Regions from separate parts of the Homo sapiens genome. Here regions 1, 2 and 3 are each linked to region 4. The links are contacts of gene promoters, found by promoter capture Hi-C in human tissues and cell types (Jung and others, 2019). All regions are on one chromosome and are shown on one strand. The core of a region is centred on a gene start or on the middle of the fragment in contact, and the rest is flanking DNA. Distances in the headings are between cores, read along the strand shown.

The links. The method cuts DNA at HindIII sites, captures the fragments that hold promoters and counts their contacts. A contact is called where the count stands out against the background at its distance.
Region 1: a contact is called between a fragment that was not itself captured here and the fragment with the promoter of NXPH1 in region 4, in 3 of the 25 tissues and cell types used here (bladder, dorsolateral prefrontal cortex and hippocampus).
Region 2: a fragment that was not itself captured here is called in contact with the fragment with the promoter of NXPH1 in region 4 in 2 of the 25 tissues and cell types used here (bladder and heart right ventricle).
Region 3: a fragment that was not itself captured here is called in contact with the fragment with the promoter of NXPH1 in region 4 in 2 of the 25 tissues and cell types used here (aorta and bladder).

The regions. Positions count from the first base shown.
Region 1 is chr7:8,573,247-8,576,757 of GRCh38, forward strand. All of the region lies in intron 2 of NXPH1 (neurexophilin 1), which reads left to right. The region is part of intron 3 of LOC105375144 (a long non-coding RNA gene); the gene reads right to left. Among named protein-coding and RNA genes, the nearest start is that of NXPH1, 140 kb to the left of the region's middle. The HindIII fragment of the contact is 6,342 bases long and covers 1-3,511 here.
Region 2 is chr7:8,633,104-8,636,589 of GRCh38, forward strand. All of the region lies in intron 2 of NXPH1 (neurexophilin 1), which reads left to right. Among named protein-coding and RNA genes, the nearest start is that of NXPH1, 200 kb to the left of the region's middle. The HindIII fragment of the contact is 4,875 bases long and covers 1-3,486 here.
Region 3 is chr7:8,606,181-8,609,600 of GRCh38, forward strand. The region is part of intron 2 of NXPH1 (neurexophilin 1); the gene reads left to right. All of the region lies in intron 2 of LOC105375144 (a long non-coding RNA gene), which reads right to left. Among named protein-coding and RNA genes, the nearest start is that of NXPH1, 170 kb to the left of the region's middle. The HindIII fragment of the contact is 5,461 bases long and covers 1-3,420 here.
Region 4 is chr7:8,431,965-8,435,092 of GRCh38, forward strand. It overlaps NXPH1 (neurexophilin 1), which reads left to right and starts at 1,645. Exons shown (of 3, transcript NM_152745.3): 1 at 1,645-2,791. RefSeq lists enhancers at 2,209-2,756, 2,757-3,128. The HindIII fragment of the contact is 8,604 bases long and covers 1-3,128 here.

The DNA.
Region 1 (3,511 bases), core at 755-3,254, 140 kb after region 4:
TCAATATAATTGTCTAACTTTGGGTTTTTATGTACTGATAAGGTTTTTAAGCAACTGTTTTACATTTAAATAAATTTATATCTCTATTTCTGAGTCTTAGAAGTAAATTTTGGGAATTAAGGGTATAAAACGACATGAATGGTCTTGACATACATACTACCGAACTACTTTATAAATAGATTATCCCAATTTAGACTTGAAGAGTCAACAGATAGAGACAGGAAACAAAAGAGCACTATAGGGCATAGGTGGGGAAGTGTAGTATGTATTTGGCAACAAGGAACAGTTGGAATATTTTGGAGCATAATGCATGAGTGATGGATAGGTACAAACAGCCTGAAAAGGCACTTTAGAACCAGGTTATGGAAGCTCTTAAATGCCAAACTAATGCAATGAGCTTTCTTTTTGCAGGGAGTTGTGAGCCATGGAAGGCTTCTGAGTAGGAGAATGCCATGACTTTAGAACTTTCTTCCAGTTAATTATAGGTTATTAAATGTCTCTGAACTTTTGGATCATGACCAAATAATATTTAAGGTCATCAGCTATCAAAATTTGAATGTCTGGAAATAAACTATGCCATTGGCTCCTGATGTTTAAAGACATCATTGACATTTACCTTATTGAACATAAATTGATTTTTACACACTTCTGTCAGTGACTACATAAAGCTCCTGGAAGGTAAAAAGTGCTAGGTCAATTCTATGTCATGGAAACCTTTAAAGGTGTACTCTGGTGGTATACAGAACTGTGAGTGTCATAAAGATTTATTGAGGATTTAAGATGTTCTTAGGACCTTCTAGCTTAATGATGTGCCCTGTAAGTGTTCAGGCTCTGAGCAGGACCAGAAGAGCAAAAATGGTATAAAAAGGCTATTCAGGTACATATTGTCTATTTAAAATCTGTACACGGTTTGCACCTTTTCCCTAAGTGTTCTGTTTGTCTATGACATGAAATATTCATCTGAAAAGCTAAATAAAATACTCAAATTTATTTTATATTTTCTAGGCAAAACTGTTTTTTTAAATTTTCAAAATTAAAAACATTTTTTTAAGAGATGGGGTCTTTCTATGTTGCCCAGGCTTGTCTCCAGCTCCTGGGCTCCAGCGATCCTCCTGCCTCAGCCTCCCAAGTAGCTGGGACTCTGACTCGAACTGACTTTATTTTATTTTCTCTCATCACATAGATGTTTTTATGGAGCCATTACAGATTCAGTTTAAGATTGCTCAGTCTAGTCAATAGGTTGTCTCTTTCTGAAGGAAAAAGATGGAATCTGTTAACTTCTTTCACATGAGTGCATACCCACAAAAAGGAAGATGGAACCCCAGATGGAGAAGGAAGGCCAAACAACACCACAGGTTGTTTTCCTGGTGTCTGCATCACATGTACTTAGTGGGTGGGACAATGAAAGCTTCCAAATTTAGAATCTATTTAAACATTGAAGGTTCTGTGTTTCAAATTCAACTTGATCTTGTTCAGCCTTGGATTCCGTCTCCTGCTGTCACAACATCCCTTCTCAATTCGAAAGGGAAGAAAAGAGATTCATAGGACCTCAAATAGAGTTTCTCTGGCATGGCTGTGCATCAAGTGTAAATGAATCAGAAAACTGAGCATTAACTTTTACTTGAAATAGATAAGACTTTAAAAAATAGGGATAAAAATGCACTGATGGTTTGAAATAGCAATTCAAGTAGTTTTATGGCACTTACCACCAGACATGCTTGGTTAAGAGAGTGAGGTACTCCTTCGACATTATAGCATTCGTCGGAGACGTTCTGTTAAATCTAAAATGTAAATAGCTTCTCCCTTTTATATTATGTTTGACTCTGACATTAATGCTGTATCCTTTAAGTGACTAAAAGAGTATTTCTGACTAAGCCTTCTAATTTTGTCATAAAACTTTGCTCAGAATGAATTTTTGCTTAAAAGGCCAACTCTAATCCATTTTTCTTTTGGCCAATTTAAAGCAAATAAATCAGGTCAGTTCTCTTTATGACACAAAAGGGAAAAATGATAAGTTTTCTTACTTCATACTCTTTTATTTTTGAATTTCTACAACTAAAATGTCTCTTTTTCTCCTTTAAGTACAAGCTGACAGGTCATTAATCCTTAATGTGAATTTATACCTCTGGGTATTTTGGGAAGAAAACTCATTAAAATTCTTTTGTTTTATATGTGACTGTCCTAATAGAAATTTGGAGTTCATGTTTAGAATTTGTTTCAATGAATAGAAAGCATAGAAATTCTTTTAAAAGAGTTGAAGTATATGAAATTACTTCTACCTACAGTCAATGCTGTTGCTCTGATCTTAAAAGTCTGCTGCTAACTTTTCTGCAGAAAGAACATAAGTTCTGTAAGCTCCATATTTTCAATGTGAATAGATTTATTCCATTTGAATTATCTGGATAGGCCTATGCACTTAATATAATTTTCTATAATGTTTCCTGTTTTTCTGTGAAGCACTGTTTTATTTTTCTTTAATTCTACCAAAAGGTGAGGCATTGGGCAATGATCTTTTTTTTTTTTAAATAAGCTCTTACTTGGTCAAAGTTAGCTAGCTATGGCTTATGTATAGGCCCATTTTATGGATACTGGTGGATATATTCTGCAGCCTGTTGCTGGATCATAGTTTCCCATTATTTCCTCTCTCTCCAGTTTCTTCCTTCTTTATAGAGTGCTTGAAAGCCTTCTAAATGAAAAAGAACTGCTATCAACAAACTTATATTTCAAGATTATTAGAGAGATTTTATCATCTGTAAAAACTTCCCATCTCAATAGGGGATGGGTATACCTGCTTCTCTGATTGTCCAGAATAGCTTCTATCTCTTTTTATTCTAGCCACTGATAACAACACAAGAACTGATGAAGAGAGATATGCCTTTTATTTGCTTTCTTTTTCTTAAGCAAGTATATCAAACTCTTCCATGGTCTTAACTGTATTCTAGGCATATGTTTGAAAACTCCATTCATTTCATGTTTCCATACTTAGCAAACATCAACTATGCCTTGAACACTGTGTTGGGCACTGGGAGCACAATAATGACCAAAGTAGTCATCATCCATGCCCTTTGGGGTAGGAGTGAGGAGAATGTGGCAATCAATGCTATCTGACTTGTTCCACAGGGAATAAAAGTGACAGCTGCGATAAGTGGTATTAAGGACAGACATGGTGCTATCATGTGTATAATAGGAAGAACTAATTTCTACTGAAGCGCAAGGAAACCTTTCTTGAAGTACGTTTGAATGAAAGGATGTACTGAGGGACATTCTAGACAATGTAGCTTATGGAAGAAAGTGGTGAATGACTGTAATGTAGGACTGAAGGAAGGCTGCAGCCTTCTTTCACACGTAGGCTTAGGAGGGGTCTTGTGAGGTGAGGTGGGAAAGTTATATTGGGACCAGATCGTACATGACTTTGTGGAACAGACAGTAGAAAAAAAGGATCTAGGAGATAGTGATTTATTAGATAAGAGAGGTGAGGGAGAGAGATGTGATAGGATAAGTACCATGTTTT
Region 2 (3,486 bases), core at 64-2,563, 200 kb after region 4:
TAATGAAGTTAATACAACCATAATGTATCATTAAAATAAAAGTAACAGGCCGGGCATGGTGGCTCACGCCTGTAATCCCGTCACTTTGGGAGGATGAGGCAGGTGGATTACGAGGTCAGGAGATGGAGGCCATCCTGGCTAACATGGTGAAACACTGTGTCTACTAAAAATACAAAAAGCCGGATGTGGTGGCATGCGCCTGTAATCCCAGCTACTCAGGAGGCTGAGGCAGGGGAATCACTTGAACCCAGGAGGCGGAGATTGCAGTGAGCCAAGATCGTGCCACTGTAGCCTAGAGACAGAGCGAGAGTCCATCTCAAAAAAGACATCCTTGTTGATGATCTCACAATAGAGTTTCCTTCTTTAGAATTATGCGGATGTGAAAGCGCACACACATTGTACTACAGTGTTGCGTGACAACCGAATTTCTCAGTAGAATACTGAATTTCAGCCTCAGTAAGCTCTAATGATCTTCTAACATTCATTTATAAAACCCAAACTTTAGAAACACTTAACAAACCACTCAACAGGATGTTTAGTAACGTTTAACAATTTGCAAAAAATAATTGCCAATTACCCAGAAGACCTGAAAAAAGAATTCGTAATTTTTATACAGCCCATGGTTCATCAAGCTGAACCTTGCATGAGCTGACAACAATGCATGTTTGACAGTCTCTCTTGAGTTGAACCCTCTTTTTGTGGATGACAAAACTGAGGTCTGCGGAAGGAAGGTTCTTGTCAGTTGTAGTAAAGTTAAATATTTTTCAATTTTTTGTGTGAAGTATTTGCTTAAGAATTTGAAGTCCAGGTTATATGCTGGGCCAGTTTCCTTATTTATGAAAACACCTTTGCTTAAGAGCATCTGTAAATAGAGATTTCTTCCTATTATGGGGTCATTTATTCCATTATAGGGTAATTCTGATTGTTTGAAAGTTGAGTCTGATGTGAGGCTGAAATCGAATCTGTCTCATGACAATTTCTATTTATTTTTTCATTTCCTGGTGATGTCGTTTAGCTGTGTCCCCACTCAAATCTCATCTTGAACTGTAGCTCCCATAATCCCCACGTATCATGGGAGAGACCCGGTGGTACGTAATTGAATCATGGGGGCGGGTTTTCCCATGCTGTTCTCATGATAGTGAATATCTCATGAGAACTGATGGTTTCATAAAGGGCGGTTCCCCTGCACATGTTCTCTTGCCTGCAGCCATGTAAGAGGTGCCTATGCTCCTCCTTCACCTTCCACCATGATTGTGAGGTCTCCCCAGCCATGTGGAACTGGGAGTCCATTTTTACTTAGTAAATTTAATTTACTTTGTAAATTAAGTCTTTTACTTTGTAAATTACCTAGTCTTGGGTATTTCTTCAAAGCAGTGTGAAAATAGACTAATACACCTGGATAATGATAAGGTTTGTTTTGTTTTGCTATCATACTCATCTGAGTGTTTCAGGCCTATGATATGGCCAGATTTGCATTAACTTACAAAGCAAGAGGTATAAAATTCTTTGGAGTGAGTTCTTTCTTCTGCAGTTATCTGCATGGTAGAGATTGTCCAGAAGAGTTTTTTTTTTTTTTTTTTTTTTTTTTTTTTCCAAAGAGCAGCCTCACTTCACCATGTGATTTGCTTTGAGATGGAAATGGCCCAGGAAATGATAGGGTTTATATCTATCTTCTTACTTAATAGGAAAGCATGCAGATGTAAAGAACTCCTCTCTGCCCCAAATCTCTGATAATTTCCCCAAGAATAAGTATTGAGAACTCCAGAATTCAGATGTTTCAACTCCTTCACAAGACACTTTTAAAGTACTTGAATAATAATTTCTGTATAACTTTCTGCTGTGTGTAGAAATGACTCTTTTGCTTCTCACCATTGACATATTACTGGAAGTGCAAACAACATTTGATGATGTAGCTATAATACTGGGAGTTTTGAACAATAGCTATCTCTAATCACATTTGTCAAAAGCAGACTAGAGATCTTACCTGTCTGAAGTTGTCAACCCGTAGGCCATTTTTCTAGAGGCAACCTAAAGTGCTGAATAAGATTTGCAAGTGGAAAAAAATGCTATGTCACCGAGGTAGAGGTAAGCTTGGAGCCCAAGTACTGTGCATAATTCTTCAAAGGTTATGAGAATGACAGCTATTAGCAGGCTGAAGGCACAATTCTTTAAGAACTAACACACAGCAGTCTTTGTTGCCTTTTGCCCTAAAATCTCACATCACATTCTATTTGGTTAGACAGCTATTGAACTCAAAAGAACTTCAGAGTTTCTTTCAAGTTTCTTTTCCTACCTTTCTCTTTTTAGTGGTATAAATGCATTCAATCTCTTGGGCACCCTTTGAATTATTTTATTAAATTCTGCAAGATCTTAGTGATTGGTTTCTGGTATTTCCTCCATTATCAAGACCACTGCTAAATCTTAAGGGCAATGTTATGGGTATAGAAAAAAGAAAATAAAGATGCATCAAGATAGATATGTTAGATAGAGAACCATCACTCAATTACCTGCCAGAACGTTGGAGAGTGACTGTGATGACACCGGGTCTAAAAGCATTTGAAATATTTAAAAAGAAATGTAATAACAGATCAACCCCCTATAGAAATCGTATTTTATTCTACTGAATTGTTTCTTGGAAGCATTTACGTCTTTAACCAATGGAAAGATGAAACAGCTTTTTTTCTTTTTTTGACAATTAAAAAAGTTTGGTCCAACTGAATTTAGAATATATACACTTGGATAGTTTGCCCATTTGTTTCAGCTAACTGGTAGGGTTTTTAAATGTGTACTAATTGTACCTCCTATTTATAGAAAAAAAGTGCTGTTCTTTGAGAGAGAGAAAGAATCCAGGAAATATGATGCTTAAAGGTAATGTCTTTCACTACACCCACTGAAGGTCACTTTATCTATCCAAGGGTAAAGTTTTTCTTTCTCTCTTTTATTTTTATTGAAGTTGGACTGCAGCCTGCATAGACTTTCTTTTTCCTTTAAAGATATCGTTTTCCGCCTAATTGTGCCCAGCTTCATTTATACCCTGAAAAGGATTGTGTTTGTGCTTACATACTCAGGAGACTCTTTCACTCAATAGCCAAACTCCAGCAACAGCCCTCTGGGATATTTGAGTAAATGTAAGTGAAAGTTCCCTGTGTTTGTCTCTGTGTTCTTTTTAAACAAAAGTTTAACTCAGGGCACCGTGGGCATATTTAAAGAAATTTATCTGTAGAACTGTCTTCCAGCTAAGATCTGAAAAATACATTTTGGCCTGCAAAAGTGTTCATCAGTCAGCAGAATTTCCAGTAATGCCTCTTGTATTTTCAAGCCACTTTCTCCCCATATTAATAGGTAAAAGAACTAGCAGCACATGCCTACAGCCCATAATGATGTGCCTTTAAAACTTTCTGTGAGAACTTAGCAAAGGATTAAAAAGGAAAGGGCAAACCAAGGATAGCAAATTGATTCAATTCCAGTGGAATGCCAATTCCAGTC
Region 3 (3,420 bases), core at 266-2,765, 170 kb after region 4:
ATTTCCTTTATTACATTTAGGAAACAGATGAACAGATTGATAGAAGATGAGAGGAAAATTGTATATTTTGTAGTACAATATAAAACACCTAAGAATAAAAAAAAATATGTTTTATGGAAAACTCTTCTCCTTTTCCCCACCCTACGTAACCCCTAACCACATACAACTTCAACCAAAGGAAAGAAACCTACGTTACTTGTTTGAACAATCTTGTGCCTGCTTCAAAGGTACTGTTAACAATGTGATGTATTTTGCATTTGCCTCTGGGGATTTACCACTCAATATTAAAGTACTTCCCACTGTGACATTTTAAAAACTGTCTCTTTCCTCTGCTGAGCTAAAAACATAATGGGGATCAAGAAAACCATCTGAAACAAGCATAGTATAAAATTTCTGCCAGGCATTGGAAGTTAAGGCATGGTTTTTGACCCTCCTTTTGTACTGGGCAAAGATACAGGACTGCTGCCCTCTCACTCTGCCTTTTCAAAAGCTTGTTAAATGAATTGCCTCTGCCATATTGTAAACTTGACATATTTGCCCAGGGTCTTTGGTTCAAATCTAAGTGTATATCCTCCTAGTCCAGTGAATATGTGCAGAATGATATTTGTAAATCAAGACATGATAGTGATGCTACTTTCTGAAGAATCTAAAAAAACAGAATTGGTAGGAAGCTGGGATTAGATGATGAGAACATATAGTTTCTTGAAAATATTTTTATTTTTTTCTAGATATATATTTCTACCTTGAAAAGCAAACCACTAATTTTATTGATTGCTTGATTTCTGATGTTTTGTGAATATAACCTATTCTTAGTAAATTTGGTAATCTGAGGACATATTTTATTGAATAATTTTAGTTGGGGCTTTAATTCTAGTTTTTCCTGGGACAAATATACGGTTGGACTCATATATATCCTGGGACCAATACAGTTTAAATTATAGTAAAATTAACAAAATTAACTCGAAGTTTGAACTTGAACAGTGTGAAATCACATTGGAACATTTTAAATTTAGTAGCAATAATTGGCCTATCCATAATTAATACAGTACTTATATATATTATTGCTTAAATAGGTGTTTAAATTTTACATGCTCTGGGTGATTTTGCTTAAATGAGTTAAAAGCACAGTTTAATTAAGACCAATGAGTTGCTAGAAGAATGCATTTGGCTTCATACTTTTCTTGGATCGTGTCACTCGATACAGTACTCACTAACTAGTGGCAAATAAAAAAGTCAATAAATTCCTGTTTCCATCAACTAGACTAATGAACTTCATTAGTTGATCATGTTATCAGTATAATTACTACAGACCACATTTTGCCCTTGGCTATTAATGCAACAGACTTCTGTACTTAGAAGAACTGCCTAAGAAGAGAACTCAGGTTAACTCTGGCAAATAACTTTGACTCTTTTCTTTCTAAAATCATTATTATATCCTCTGGAAATAGAGTATCCCATATACTCAGCTATGATGGTTTTCACATTGAACTGTGGGAATATGTTGCTAGACCCCTTTGCTTTGTTATAATTGTGTTGGCTATGCCTTTATGGGATACTGTTGTGGGTTGAAATATGTTCCCCAAAAAGATCTGTTGAGGTCCTAACATCTGGTTCCTGTGAATATGACCCAATTTGGAAATAGAGTCATAACAGATGTAAATTAAGATGAAGTCGTACTGAAGTAAGGTGGACTCTTAATCCAATATGACTGGTGCCCTCGTGAGGTGAGAAGAGACACACACATACCTAGGGAAAATGCCATGTGGCGATAGAAGTCAAGATCAGAGTGATGCAGCTGCAAGCCAAGGAATGCCAAGGATTGGTGGTGACCACCAGAAACTGGGAGGAGGTAAGGAAGGATTCTATCCGGAGTCTCAGAGAGAACACTGCTTTGCTGATTCCCTAATTTTGGCTTCTACCCTCTGGAACTGTGGGAGAATACATTTCCATTGTTTTCAGCCACCCAGTTTGTGGTACTTTGTTATAGCAGCCTGAGGAAACTAATACAAATTTCTTACTTGAATTATTAACCATAATAGATTAACTACTTAGCTAGTTAGGAGGAAGTGATCAGCTGTTCTCAGGGATAAATGGAAGTCTTGAAAGTCCAAGAATTATTCATTAGGACAAATTCTTAAAAATTCAGTGATTTTTTTTTTTTTTTTGAGACAGGGTCTTGCTTTGTCATCCAGGCTGCAGTGCAGTGGAGTGGTCACAACTCACTGCAACTTCAGCCTCCTGGGCTCAAGCAAGCCTCCCACCTCAGTAGCCTCCCACTCCTGATTAGCTGGGACTACAGTGATGTGTCGCCATGCCCAGCCTAGTGGTATTTTTAACAGATAAATAAGAATGGAGGTAGTGGCAGAGGTGGAGTGAGAAGAGAGACAAGTAAAATATAGAAATTTGAGGGAAGTGAAATGGCCCTTTCTGTATTTTTTTAAAAATATGGAGGTTTGCATCTTCTTGATTTGCAGCTTTGAAAACATTGACTTTTTTGTGCGTCATATGACACTAATAACAGAAACTACCCCACCAAAATACCACCACAAACTTCACTTAAAATAAACTCCAAAGAAGAATCCATTTTTCGTGTGATATGAATGACAAATGATTATAAGGAATTTTAATAATTTATATAAAAATCCAAAGAGTCATATTGTAAGTACTGACAGGTATACTAGGGAGTTTTTGATCACACTTAAAAATTACTTGTGTAATTAGGTACAACATTAAAATGAGAACAGGGATATATACAGTAAGTCCTCACCTAATGTCATTGATAGGTTCTTGGAAACTTGACTTTAAGGGAAATGACTACTCTATAATGAAACAAATTTTATCCCAGCTTAAATGATATAAATGAGAGTCATTTTGCTTGACATCACTGTTTACAAGAACCTATCAGTGATTTTAGGTGTGGACTTATTGTGTGCATAATTCATATATTATTTAACAATATATTAGGTCCAAAGATATATCTCTGGCTTTCTTATTCTACAGATGGTTAATGTCTGCTAGCTAAGCTAGGTAAGTTAGGAAAAGCTTAGAAGCTCAATACATGTAAGCAAATAAAAAACCCAAAAACATCATTTTAGACGATTCTTTAACCTTCTATTCTAAAATTATGGCAGGCACTATACGTAAGGGCTTTATAGTTTACATTTTGTAGACGAAGAATATAACAATCAAGAAACAGTCTAAAAAACTGGCAATGGAAGAAAGAATGAAGAGAAACCCAAGACTTAGCTAATTCATGATGTTGCCTCAAATATCAAGAAGCTGGTATTATGCAAATGGATCTTGTGAGAGGAAATGAACTCAGAACTGAGATTATGACTGTGACGTACTTTGAGACACTTTCAGAAAGATTGAAAGACGAAAAGATATTTCTTGGTACAAAGCACATTATGATTGATGACT
Region 4 (3,128 bases), core at 395-2,894:
ATTCAGACAGACATTTTAAGGTCTCTGATCATCTTTCTATTTCACAAGCAGTATTTTTTTAAGGCTAAATGGCACTAGAAGCAGAATGTTTTTAAAGTAAGGTTTAGAAAAGAACTTGGTATATTCCAAAGCTAGCCGGATTCTTTCTCATTTTCCCAAAGGTCAGACAGAAGTTCAGCTCTGACAGCATTGTAGCTGGGAATCCAGATAGAGGCAGGCAACATTTGCTCCAGCTCTACACTCCAGTCTGGGAGGCCTGGGAGCTCCTGTACAAATAGGAATCAATTTTAGGATAGCCTTATGAATCCTAGAGGATGGAATTAGACAAAGCTTTTTTTGCCCCTGCTTTGACCATTTGGCCTCAGATACGGGTGCCCCAATACTTTAATTTTTCTTCTTTAAAGTTTAAAGTTTTTAAGAAAATGAAATAGCTGGTAAGTGAAAATAGTCAAGAAAACATTGTAATTATGCTATATGTACATGTGCGTTTTTTCTGAAGTGGATTTTCAGAGACACAGTTAGAAGGTGTGCTTCACTGCTTTATTCTGCATATGCCCCAATGAATTCCAGGAGGTCACAGCAGCAGAGTACAACTTTTAAGATTAGAAGAGCTTGCTCTTTAAAGAGTTATTTTTAGCTGGAAGGGAGAGTGTAGACCTCAAAGTGCTGGTAGGTATGTTCTACAGTGGGGATCTAATTTGGAGGTCTTTGGAGATCTGATTCCAGGGGAAGGTCTCAGTGGGGCTCCTCTTGCCTCTGCTGCAGGACTGGGTGGCTCTGCTGATTGTCACTGCCTTGTTTGAGGGGTGGTCTCCATCATCCAGGGGAATTCAGCCTGGGACCTATTGTCTAGAGTGTACATTGTATCTAGGCCCAGACCTGCCAGAGTGTCCACAGCCACACTTGAGGAAAGGACATTCCAGACTCATTAAATATCACAATTCGATTTTGATGTCACTAACTCAGGTTCCTGAGATAAATTTCCATACAATTCCTACAGATTGATATGGATATGTGCATCACCCCAGGAGAGGCTCTGGTGAAGGGCAGGCTTGGAGATGCAATGGGCAAGGTTGGGGAAGAGATACCCTCTTCCGGGTTCCGATTTGTGCCCTGAATTTGGGCAAGCTCAAGGAGCACTGGCAACCCCACCAGCACCAGAAGAAGCTGGTCCTGGCTGTCTCCCGAGACTGGTGAAACTGCTCTGGTGGTGGTGCACTGGAAGGGTGGAGGAAAAAAAACAAAAAACAAAACAGGGTTTGAGGGGGAATGGCAGGGACACGGTAGAGGCACAGAGATACAGAGACCTAGAGTCAGAAATCCTGAGTGAGACACACAGAAAGGCAGAAAAAGGCAGAAAGATGCTGAGGGACAGAGACGCAGACCACAAGAATGACAGAAGAAGGAGACAGAGAGAGAGAGGGAGTGAGAAAGATACTGAGAAATAGGGACAGTAAGGGAGAGACTGAGAAAGACAGAGACAGCCAGAGTCGGAGCACAGAGGCCGAGTCTGGGAGACGCTGGTTGAGTGGGAGGTGTCAGTAGCGAGGGAGGTGGTGACGGCTCGAAGCATCCCCCGTCCTCCTCCTCCCCCTTCACGCTCAGCCCAGCCGGCGGCGAGGAGTCCAGAGGCCAAGGTCGCCCAGTCCTCTCGGCTGTCTCGAGCTGAATGGCTGGCAGTCTGCGGCTCCCCCGCCTCCGGCCCGGCAGCCACAGGTCGGAGGCGCCCGGCGTCGGCGCTCGAGGCCGGCAGGGGCGCCCTGCACCCTCCCGCGCCCTTCCCCGCCCTACGCGACTCCCGGCTGCTCTTCCCGCCACTCCCCTGGGCTTTGCGATCTTCCCTACGCCCCCCGGGAAGGGGGCGCTGCGGCCACCGAAGACACCGCGGGAGCCACTTGTCCCTGTGGGCCCAGCCCGCGAGAGCCTGAGAGCCGGATCTGTTTACACAGGGTACTAATTAGTCTTTGAGGAATCATTCACCCACGTGCCAAAGTAATTGTCCGTGTCAGGAAGGTAGGCGTGCCAAGCCGCGGCTCTGCGGAGAAACCACGACCACCGCGGCCGCCGGAAACCCAAAGCGCTCCAGAGCGTCCCCGGGTGGCCGGGCAGCACCAGGGACAGCGCCCGGGACTCCACTGGGGACCGGCTCCTGGGCTTCCCAGCGTCGCGGGTAGAGGTACAGCTGCTCCGTGTGCCGCAGGCTCCAGATTCTCGCCACCCCACCCCTCCCTCAGAAACTCGGACTGCTCTCGTCTGCCGTGTGGTTCTCTTTTCTTCCGAAAGGCCAGTGTCTTATCTCTCCACTTCAAGTCCAGAGGACTTGCTCAGTCTCCTCCCCTTAAGTCATTTCCACCATCCTCAGGCAGCTGTGGGAAGCCGAGAGTCCTGGACTGTTCGTCCGGGTGCCAGCGCTGGCAGTCCCAGTCCGTCCGGTGCAGCAGCCCGGCGCATTCCCCTCTCTCCCTCCCTCTTGCTCTCCCTCCCTTTCTGTCTTCCTCTCTTTCCTCCTCTACTGCTCCCTCCCTCTCTTGCCTCTTAAGTTTCCTGCACCGTGAATCCAACTGTGCCAAGCCTTGGCTCCCGCGAACCAATCCTGAGCGCGACCCGGGCACTGGGACGGCGACTCCGCCAAAGCTGGACGAGGCAGCCGGACCCGTCTGCGCTCGAGCATGGAGACGGAGCGCCTGGGAGGGCACGTCCGGGGCGCTGGAGACGCCAGGCCCGAGTAGCTTCTCCATGGAGCCTGCCCAGAGCGGTCCCTTCTCGCAGGATTCGCCCCAAGTCCTGTGCGGTACGTACCCTTTGCCTCCGCTGTTCCCGGAGGGTACACCTGGGAGCGGGGTGGTGGGCACGAGGAAGGGACGGCAGGGAGGGGCGCTGGTTAGGAAAGAGAACAAGCCTGGCAGGTGACCCTCACAGCTCGGAGGAGGCTTCTTCTCTAGAAGTTAGCGACCGGCTGTACCCTTTGGCTCGAAAAAAGTAGTGCTAGAGATGTGACTGTGAGCATTCGTGGGTATCTCTGTGTGCGCCAGGGGTTCGAATGGGTAAACTGATCCCTGCTTTCCTGTATGCAAATTGCATTCTCTTTCCCCACCCCCACTTCACCGAACGTGTTGAGGTACCTAGCA